Regions from separate parts of the Homo sapiens genome. Here all the other regions are linked to region 2. The links are contacts of gene promoters, found by promoter capture Hi-C in human tissues and cell types (Jung and others, 2019). All regions are on one chromosome and are shown on one strand. Each heading gives the region's core, a stretch centred on a gene start or on the middle of the fragment in contact. The rest is flanking DNA. Distances are from core to core; before and after follow the strand shown.

What was found. Contacts are between HindIII fragments. The study calls those that stand out against the background at their distance.
Region 1: a contact is called between a fragment that was not itself captured here and the fragment with the promoter of CHRDL2 in region 2, in 1 of the 25 tissues and cell types used here (hippocampus).
Region 3: a contact is called between a fragment that was not itself captured here and the fragment with the promoter of CHRDL2 in region 2, in 1 of the 25 tissues and cell types used here (IMR-90 fibroblasts).

The regions. Positions count from the first base shown.
Region 1 is chr11:74,473,849-74,477,215 of GRCh38, forward strand. No RefSeq gene overlaps it. Among named protein-coding and RNA genes, the nearest start is that of KCNE3, 8.0 kb to the left of the region's middle. The HindIII fragment of the contact is 4,261 bases long and covers 1-3,367 here.
Region 2 is chr11:74,729,483-74,733,009 of GRCh38, forward strand. CHRDL2 (chordin like 2) reads right to left here and starts at 1,944. Exons shown (of 11, transcript NM_001278473.3): 1 at 1,325-1,944. The coding sequence starts at 1,406. The HindIII fragment of the contact is 7,141 bases long and covers 1-3,527 here.
Region 3 is chr11:74,421,874-74,425,492 of GRCh38, forward strand. No RefSeq gene overlaps it. Among named protein-coding and RNA genes, the nearest start is that of MIR548AL, 24 kb to the left of the region's middle. The HindIII fragment of the contact is 6,614 bases long and covers 1-3,619 here.

The DNA of each region.
Region 1 (3,367 bases), core at 266-2,765, 260 kb before region 2:
AACTAAGGAATGTGGGTGGAGGATGCGAGCTTGGGTTTTCACCCCAGAAAGGAGCAGGAGGGGACAATCTCAGTTCCTCAAATATCCACATACTCTCTGTCATCTTCAGGCCTTTGCCTATGCTGTTCTCTCTGCCTGGAACATACTTCCTCCTGGGGCCGGCTAACTCACCCTTAGATGCTACTTCCTCCCGGAAATCTCCCCTGCCCTAAATTAGATGCCTTTGTCTGTGTCCCCTGACTGCTCCCATCCCACGTATCTCCCCTTTTTCATATGTATCATCCTTGTGTAAGTCCCTGTTCTTGGGCAGGGTACAGTCTGATATGGGAAGAATGGCCCTGACTGCATGGAAAATGTTGCTCTCACTGGGAGAGCCCCTAGTCCAAGAGGGAGCAATAGACGAAGCAGCCCCTGGGGGGATCAGAATGCTGTTTGGTTTTTGGTGCTTCTAATCTTCTACCTCCAAAGTCATCAATGTTTAGAAAACAAGCAACAGATGTGGGTGTCTTTACTGGAGGTCTGGCTGAACCTACAGAGAAGGAGGGATTCCCTAATTCTTCTTAGTGATAAGAGACCACCTGGATGGTGCTGACACAGGCACAAGCCAAGAAAGGGGTCAGCCAAGGATCATCGGCCCTGGGACCTGGGCCAAGTCACTGCCCCACTTTGAGCCTCTGTGTTCCTCACTTGCACAACAACAATCTTGGTCCTGCAAACCTTGCAGTGTTCCAAGGAGCAAATGGACTCACAGCTGAGAAGGCACTTTGAAAACCATGAAATGCTTATTATTGCCTTCCCCTCAGACCAGGAGCTCCTGGAAGGAGGGGCTGTACCTCAGATGTTATGCATATTTGTTATCCCACCTAAGTAAATAGGATAGTGTGGCAGCAAAACAAAACAAAAACAAAAAGTGTTGACACTGACTTAAGCTTTGTTTTTAGAAGAATGTGTTTGGGGCTATCTTGGATTCTCCCAGAAGCAGGCCCTGGGACATGGATTTGAGTACAAGTGGTTCATGTGTGACGTGATCCCAGGAAACACAATTAGAAGAGTGGTGAAGTAACACAGGAGTGAATGGAGCCTTTCATAAGGTGTACCCTTAGCAAGCTTAGCCCTGCTAGGGAACCCTAGAGGCCTGGGTAGAACACACATCCAGAGTTACCCCTCATTAGAGGCAAGGGGGCTAGGGGAGTCAGTCATTGGCTGAGGGCTGCTCGGGGGATATGAATTCTCCAGCATGTCCAGCCTGACACATGGGTTGACAGCCCCGGTCCCTCCAAAAGTCCTGAGAAAAAAGGTACAGATGCTGGCAGGTGGAAATAGACACTGAAATGTCTATTTCTCTTCTTCTTCTTCTTCTTTTTTTTTTTTTAAGACAGGGTCTCACTCTGTCACCCAGGCTCCAGGCTGGAGTGCAGTGGTGATGATCTTGGCTCATTGCAGCCTTCACTTCCTGGACTCAAGCAATCTTTTTGCCTCAGCTTCCCAAGTAGCTGGGACTACAAGTGTACGCCACCATGCCCGGCTAATTTTTGCATTTTTTGTAAAGACAGGCTTTTACTACGTTGCCCAGGCTGGTCTCAAACTCCTGAGCTCAAGTGATCCTCCTGCCTCGGCCTCCCAAAGTGCTGATATTACAGGATTGTGCCACTGTGCCCAGCCTGAAATGACTGTTTCTAACAGATATTTGAAATGGCACTGAAATGGAAGGGCCAGGCAAATATACATGGAGCACCTAAAACACCTGCTATAGTCTGGGGCAAGATAGGCACTTGAGTTCCCCAGATTAGCTTCACACTTCAGAGACTCTCATGCTTCTTATTCTGCCTGGAACACACCATGTCTTCTTATCTATCCCACAATTCTTATCTTCTGAAGCCATAGTGGACATCTGATGTCTTGGCCTTCCCAGAATTCCTTCTTTTGGGAATAGAACCTCTCTCTTCCTTTTGGGGAGTCACCCTTCCCTCTCTTGCTCTCAGCCCATATGGTTCAGGTGGGGCTAAGCCCCATCTGTTTGTTCCAAGAGGGTCATGACGCTCCTTGGAGTGATGATTTATCCAGAATCCTTCCTGGGCCTTAGGCTGAATGTATACGGAAGTAAGGGTGGCTAAGCTATAGAATCTAAGTGTGGTGTGACCAACAGCCATCTTTGGCACCACACAGGAGAGAGTGAAGCCAATTCTGAGGTCAGCAGAGCTAAGGAATAGAGGAAGAAAAACCAAGTCCTGATGCCATTGTTTGAGTCCCTGGATCAATCTGTGCCTGAAGTCTATCCACAGACTTTTCAGTTATGAGATCTAAAATATTCTCTTTTCACTTGAGCTAGTTTGAGCTGGGTTTCCTGTTACCTACAACCCAAAGTCCTCACTAATTCAGTGTCACTTTGAGCCTTTTCTGCCCTCATCCTCCCTTTTAAGACTTAGTACTTCTTTTATTTCCCCACAGTTCCCTATGCAAGCTTCTCTCAGTGTGTATAACACTTTACTGCATGTGTTTGTTTACAGGTGTGTCTTCTCTACAAGGCGGTGAGCTCCTTGAAGATGGACCAAGTTGGATCCATCTCTGTCCTCAGGGTCCAGCACAGGCTGGAACCTGGCCAGACCATACCATACATGTTATCTTCAAGCTGCATAGATTAAGGGCACATTAGCCAATTGGAGCCTATGGAGATGAGGGCAGTGGTGTGGGGTCTGGAAGCCATGAAGAACATAAGAATAAGGAATGTTTAACTTGAAGTAGAGACCACTTCTGAGACAATCCATTCTCTGATTCCACAGACTGTTTCTGGGTGCCTCCTCTGTGGGAGGCCCGGGACTGGGGGCTGAAAAGGCCATGGATGACACAGCTATAGTCCCTGCCTGGGGAGCTCACAGTCTGGTTGGGATCGGGCATGGAAACAAGGAACTATAATAGAGTGTGGTCAGTACCACTAGAAAGGGATGTAGGGCATGGCCAGGGAAGTCCTCTTAGTGCAGGGGGGCAGAATTATGACAATGTTGGTGGCACATTTTAGCTTTGAGGAGTAACTTTCTAACAATCAGAACTGTGCAAGAATGGAAGGCTGCCTCAGGAGGCAGTAAGTGTTCTGTGTCTGGAGGTGTGTGAGCAGGGCTGGGACAACCACTTAACAGACTGGATATATATTTTTTTCTTTTTTATCATTTTATTTTCAAATTGTCTATGTCTTTTAATGTTAAAGTACGTTTTTTGATAATAACATATAATTGCTTGCATTTATAAAAGGTCAGCAAATGCTGCCTTTTCATGAGAGTATTTAATCCATTTACATTAAATTAGTGTTTCATGTTTGGATTTATCTGTCATGGTGTTTGATTTCTATTTCTGTTTTCAGATTTTCATTTCT
Region 2 (3,527 bases), core at 694-3,193:
GAATACAACACTGAGCTAATTCCATTACTTGTTCTATGTAATGGAAAGACTTATGTGAGTCTCATGCTGCTGGCAGGCCAGAGACACTCAGCCTGCTCTCATGAGCAGAAACAAGACCGTAACAAAGTCCAGCACTACCAGCTCCAGAATGTCACGTGCAAAAGAAAGGCATAGATGGAGGAGCTGAGCTGGGGAGAGGAAAGAGCACCAGACTAGGAGTTGGGAACGCAGGGTCTTAATCCCAGGCTGTGCCATGTATGTCCTGGAGAAACCCACTGCTTGAATGAAGCTCCTTTCTTCTGATTAAGAGAATGTGGTTTGGTTTTCCATCCTCACAGCATTCTAAGAGATTGGCTGGGCATGGGGAGGGGGGACCACCAGCCTATTGTGGGCGCAGTGAGGAAACTGAGGCTCAGATTGATGATGTAACCTGTTTGATGTTACACTGTATCTATGTGGAAAAGCATAATTGGGAACTGATTTTTTTTGGAAGCTATCAAGCACCAGTCTTGTGCTAGCTGCTTTACCTCTTTTCTCTAATTTAATCCTATCAACTCTCCTAGGATTTTTACTTCCGCTTTATAGATTAGGAAACCCAGGGTCAGAGAGGTGCACTCTGTGACGGCCTCCCAGCAGCTGGCATTCAGCGGGGCTGGGATGGTGAAGACGCTGGTCTATCTCACTGTGCCCTGCCGCCTCCCAGAGTCTCACACTGCAAATTCAGGGTTCCTTCTAGACAATGTGAGGCAGGGAATAAAGCATGGGATCTGGAACTAGAGTTCTGGCTTTGGATGGCTTACCCGCTCTGTAAGTTTTAGCAAGTTCCTCCTTGCTCAGCCTAAGTTTTCTCATCTGTAAAGTGCGAATGATAATACCCACCTCACTGGAGAGTTGCGAGGATCAAAAGAGAGAAAAGAATGGGAAGGTTATCCTAATTACCTCTCATTTCTGTCCAATGGCTCTTTCCAAAGGCAAAAAGCCTTTTCTTCTCCATCACACTCCTTACCTGTAGCCAGACATACCCGACTCCCTCCTAGGAACAGTAAGTCCTCCCCCAACCCAAAACACAGTGCCCTGCCCTCTCCCCCCGCTGCCCTTGGTGCCCCTCCTCAGGTCCCTGGCAGCAGCCCTCTCTCAGTTCTGAGTTGTGCCGAGTTCCTCCGGTCCCCCGGCCCATACTGGTCCTCACGGAGTCTCCACCCCTCCGGCACAGGTGCTGCCTGGACGGCTGTCAGAAGAGCTTGGGGTCCAGGTCCTGGCGCTGTCCCTCACATTCCAGGGGCCGCATCCCTCCTCTGCCCACCCAGCCTCCCGGTCTACTTACGGGCTCGAGCGTGGGAGTCCAGGGGGAACCAGAGCAGCGCGAGTCCCAGCAAGGAGGAGAGGACCCTCACCTCGGGAACCATCCTTTCCCCAGGGTCAGGCCGCTGGTCCGGGAGCGGAGTCGGGAGGAAGGGAGACGAAAAGGACACGGAGGCACAGGGGCCACAGATCAACCCACAGACCCCAGGAGGTCTGCTGCTAGAGCGGGGTCGGAGAAGGGCCAGGAAGCAGCGGTGGGCAGGAAAGGAGGGCAGGAAGGGAGGTCTAAGGTGGGAAGAAGAGAAAGGTGGAAAGAGAACGCGGGGAAAGGAGGGAGAGATGGAGAGACGAAGGAAGGTCCAGCAGAAGGGAGAGGCGATCAAAGAAAGGGGGAAGGTGAGAGGGAGAGGAGGAGAAAGCAGGGAGAGGACCGGCGTCTGCCGAGCGCGCAGCGCCGGGCGAGGCGCGCGGGACCAGCGGGTGTTGCGGGCGCGCGGGCTAGAGGCGGCCGGCGCCCCCTGCTCGGTGGGCTCGGGGTCGGGCCGCGGGGGCCTGGGGCCCGGCGGGGCGGCGGTCCCAGCAGCGGCGGCGGCGCGGCGGCCGCGGAGGGAGGCTGAGCGCGGGCCGGCTGTGCTCGCCAAGGGCTTCAGGCGCCGCGCTCGGGCGCATTTGTACTTTGCCGCGGGAAGCAGGCAGCCCGGCCTGGCGCTGGCCTAGCGCTGGCGCCTCCTCTGGGGCACCGCGGGCTCGGTGGATTGGCCACCCGAGAAACAGGCCCACTTTTTCCCCTCCTCTCTTGTGCGGGTCTCCGGGACGGACGCTCCAGGCGCGGCGCCGAGTGGAGGCGAGGGGGCTGCGGAGGGGGAAGGGGCCACGCGGGCCACGGGGTTTAACCCCTGACTCCCCGCGACGCCAAGAATGCAGGAGGGCAGAGTTGAGGGAGACCTCAGGTGGAACTTTCAGGTGGGGAAGGCTGAGCTGTCGGGGCTGCGGGTACCGGGAAGGCTCAGGGTAAGGCGCTCGGCGGTGCGTGCCCGGAACTCCGCAGATGGATGGAATCAGAACACTGGCGTTCTTAATTCAGTTTGTGGTCTACAGCACGCCACCGGAGAGTCTGTTTTCCCAGCTTTAAAATGGGCATTTTAAGATCTTAAAATATCTCTACTATCTTCCCACGAGTGTTGCTAAGATGAAATAAGGTAATGAACGTCGAAACACTCACCCCACAAAGAGAAGGGGTCCTAATTCCAGGTGCCTACAATACCAGTGGCCCCTGTCCCCACTCCGTCTGCCCATGCGCCATTCTCAGGAAAGTCAGCCCATAGGGATCCTGTGCCTTCCCCTGGAGGTCTTCCTCTGCTCCCCGCTCCCACTCCCGAATCAAGGCAAGATCTCTCCTTTGCCTTTGCAGGTGAGGCCTGCACTTCTCTGGGAGTGATGGTCACCTTCAGTCATCTTTAGGGAGAGCTGATTGTCAAAGAGTTTTCTTTCCCACCAGAAGGGGAGCTCCCTGAGGACAGGGCCCTGACACCCTCCAGCCCTCAAATGGTGCTCCATCTCTTGTGTTGAATGAACACATGCACTAATAGGACACTAAGAAGAGAATAGCCAGCTCTGGCCAGACCAGAAACACACAAGCTCTGAAATCAAAAGGGCAGAGTCACTGTCCTGGCTCCATCCGTAACTTGTTGGGCCACTTTGAGTAAATACATCTATCCTTGCTTTGGACCTCAACTTTCTGCCCAGCTTCTCTTGAAGAGCTAATGGAGACTCCAAAGAGTGCCAGAGGAGTATGAGGTGGGAAGGGATGTTGAGCCATATCCCACTCTGGTAGGGAATCATATTTCCGGGTTTAAACACTTGGCTGGCTGGCTGTAAAGGTATCTTTCTGGGCCAAGGCTGGGCTCCCCATTGCACTGTGCTTTCAGGGTATTACCCCCAAGATCTCCACCCTCCAAAAGAGAGCAGTAGGAGGAACCAGTGATCCCCAAACTGGCCCTTCCTAGGGCTCTCAGGATCAGGGACAAACATGATCTGTCCAGTGCCCTTCAGGCTTAATTTCTACTCTAATCTGGCCAGTCTCTTCCTTTCCCCTGAGTATTCTTTATTTTAACAGATAGTGCAAGCTTATGCATGTCACCATGCTTCCCTTTTTGCCTTTGCTTCCAGGGATCTCAGAGTTAAATCCTGTGCTGCTTAATTGCATAAACAATCTCATCCCAAGG
Region 3 (3,619 bases), core at 865-3,364, 310 kb before region 2:
AATTTTCTTCCTGTGTAATATTCCATTGTGTGCACATAGTAAGAAAATTTAGATTGTTTTTAGTTTTTGCAATATGATTGGTGCTGTTCTGAACATTCTTTAAGTGTTTCCAGGTACATATATGCTAAGCTTTCTTTGGGTTATATATCTAGGAGTGGAATTGCTAGATCAGAGAGGATGCAAATATTCAATTTCATGAGATAATATCACACAATTTAACAAAGTAGCTGTTCCAATTTATACTCCCTCAGCAATGTGTCAGAGCGTCCTTTGATTCATATTTTCTTTAATGCTTTGCTTTTGTCAGACATCTTACCTTTTACCATTTGAAAAGATAAAAAATGGCATATCATTGAGACCTCAATTTGCATTTTTCCAATTTCCAGTGAGGTTTATTGTATTTTCATATGTTTATTAGCCTCATGTGTTTCTTCTGTGATATGTTTGATTATGTCTGTTGTACCTTTCACTATTGTACTATTTCCTTATTAATTGGTAAGAGTTTTTATATATCCTCGATATTTGTAGGATCTTTCAGCTTGTTGCTTGTCTTTTCACTTTCTTTAACGTGCAATCTTGGTTCTTAACCTCAGAACATACACAATTTATTTAACCACTCTCCTACAGATGGACGTTTTTACTGCTTCCAATATTTTACCATTATAACAATGGGACCTTAGATATTCTTGTATCTATATTTTTGGGAACATGTGAGAGTATCTACAGGAAAAACCCCTAGAAATAGAGTTAATGCTGACAAGGGGTATGTGCATTTTAAGTTTTGACAGATACTGTCAAATTGCTCTCCCTAGGAGCTGTGCTTATATTCCTACCAACTGTGAGAGTGCCTCTTACCCTACATTCTCTCCAACATTGTAAAAAATGGTCATCTCGATTTGCATTTCTTTTATAGTCAGTGAAGATGAGTTAAAAGCCCTTTGACATAATATTTTTATACTGTTATGATACAAACTTATATGCAGGAAAAATGAATAATGTTGGAACAGGTGCATCAGTCTTTTATCTGCAGGGTGAATATACAACCTTTGTGTAGATTTTTGTTTATTACTTGTTCTTTATTTTGGGCCTATAAAATGTAAAGTTGGACGATGATGATTAGAGGATTTTCATAAGATCATTGGCTTTGGCGCAAATCCAAGCACATTATGCAGGTAGTTTTAAGAAGCCTTTGAACTCATGTTTTTTTCCTTCTTTCAAGCATATCATATTTATTATAATGTATCAGGTAGAATAATGGCCTTCCAAAGATGTCCATATCCTAATTCCTGGAGCCTGTGAATATGTTCCCTTACATGCCAAAAGGGACTTTGCAGATGTGATCAAGTTTAGGATCTTCAGATAAGGAGCATTATCCTAGATCATCCAAGTGGCACCAGTGTAATCACAAGGGTCATTAACAGCAGAAGAAGGAGGAAGAAGAGATCAGAGAATGAAATATAATGATGGGAGCAGGGCCAGAGTCATGTGCTATGAGAACCTATCATTGCTGGCTTTAGAGAGAGAAGAAGGGCCCATGAGCCAAGGAAATCAGGAAGCCTCTAGAACTCGGAAAAAGCAAGGAAATGGATTCTCCCCTGGATCCTTCAGAAGGACTTCATCCCTCCTGACACCTTGATTTTGACTCTATGAGACCCATTTTGAACTTCTGACCTCCAGGCATAAGATAATAAATTTGTATTGGGTTAAGTTATTGAGTTCATGGTAATTTGTTACAGCAGCAATGCACAACTAAAACATATAGAAAATAAACAATATAAGCAAAATAAAGAAAATAAAAACTTTATGTGGTCCTTTCACCCAGAGAAGTATTATCAGTATTTTGGTATGTATCTATGGTTTTGTGCTTTTTTTTTTTTGAGACAGAGTCTCGCTCTGTCACCCAGGCTGGAGTGCAGTGGCATGATCTCGGCTCACTGCAACCTTGGCCTCCCGAGTTCAAGCAATTCTTCAGCCTCAGCCTCCTGAATAGCTGGGACTACAGGCGCGTGCCACCATGCCTGGGTAATTTATATATTTTTCTAGTAGAGACGGGGTTTCACCATGTTGACCAGGCTGGACCGGAACTCCTGACCTTGTGATCCACCTGCCTTGGCCCCCCAAAGTGCTGGGATTACAGGTGTGAGCCACCACGCCTGGCTGGTTTTGTGTATTTTTAAATTACACAAATAATTTTATACTTTATGCTCTTTTTGTAACTTGCTTGTCTCAGTCAAAATTACATTTATGGGATATCTTTATGTTGATAATGTAGCTCTCATTCATTTATTTAAAATTATGTATAATATTTCATGATAAGAATTCACCATGTGCAGCTGCTGGGAACCTGAAGGTACTGGGTAGGTGCAGGCTGAGCAGACAGGGCTCTGGATGGGTTCCCAAGCAGTGAGGAGAGATGGATCAAAACTACAGACCAACGATTCAGGCCTGGGGAGAGAAGGAAAATAGTATCAAGACAGCATCATTAGGTGACATTATAGAAAATGGCACAGTAGGGTGCTCAAAGAATTGGTGCTTCCACTGAAACAAACATAAGCTATCAAAGACTGACAGAATCAACTTTTTGGGACCCTGAAATATCCAAAACTTACAGGAACCAGGGGAATGCTTAATAAGGAAAAGGGCAGTTGACTTTTGGTAAGAGAGCACTATGGCTTTTTTTTTTTTTTTTTTTTGAGACAGTGTCTTGCTCTGTCGCCCAGGCTGGAGTGCGGTGGCGCAATCTCGGCTGTCTGCAACCTGCGCTTCCCGGGTTCAAGTGATTCTTGTGCCTCAACCTCCTCAGTAGCTGGGACTATAGGCATGCGTGACCACGCCCAGCTAATTTTTTGTATTTTTAGTAGAGACAGGGTTTTGCCATTTTGGCTAGGCGGGTCTCGAACTCCTGACCACAGGTGATCTGCCTGTCTCGGCCTCCCAAAATGCTGGGATGACCATGCATTCCCAGGACCATGTGCTTGCACAGCCAGGCATGGTGGCGGGCACCTCTAATCCCAGCTACTTGGGAGGCTGAGGCAGTAGAATGGCTTGAACCCGGGAGGTGGAGGTTGCAGTGAGCTGAGATCACATCATTGCACTCCAGCCTGGGCGACAAGAGCAAGACTTTGTCTAAAAAAAAAAAAAAAAAAGAAGAAAAGAAAAGAAAAGGCCTTAGAGGATCATAGGCTTGGCACCTCTGGAAGATCTGTGGGCTCCATGCATACAGGAAGTAAAGGCAAAGGCAGACCTGTAGGTGGCCTGGTGTAGGGGTGAAAAAAATGTCCCCACTCACAACCAAGATGCAAAGACCAGAAGAGTAGTATTTTTTTCTCTTTTTGGCTCTGAGTACTTAAGGAAATCTTTGTTAGGTCACTTCACTAAGCACTGAGATAATGGAACAGAGGCTTTGGTAACTGCACATGACAAGGAATACACTCTTTCCAAAAACAGTTTGAAAGCATCATTAAATAAATGGATGGCTACAGTCCTCAACAATTAACAACAGCAAACTTGGGGAAGGGGGAATATCTGACTTCCAGAGTTACCACATTAATCACATTATATTATTTAAATGCTCAGTTTTGTGTGTGGGTTTTTTGTTTTGTTTTGTTTTGTTTTTTTG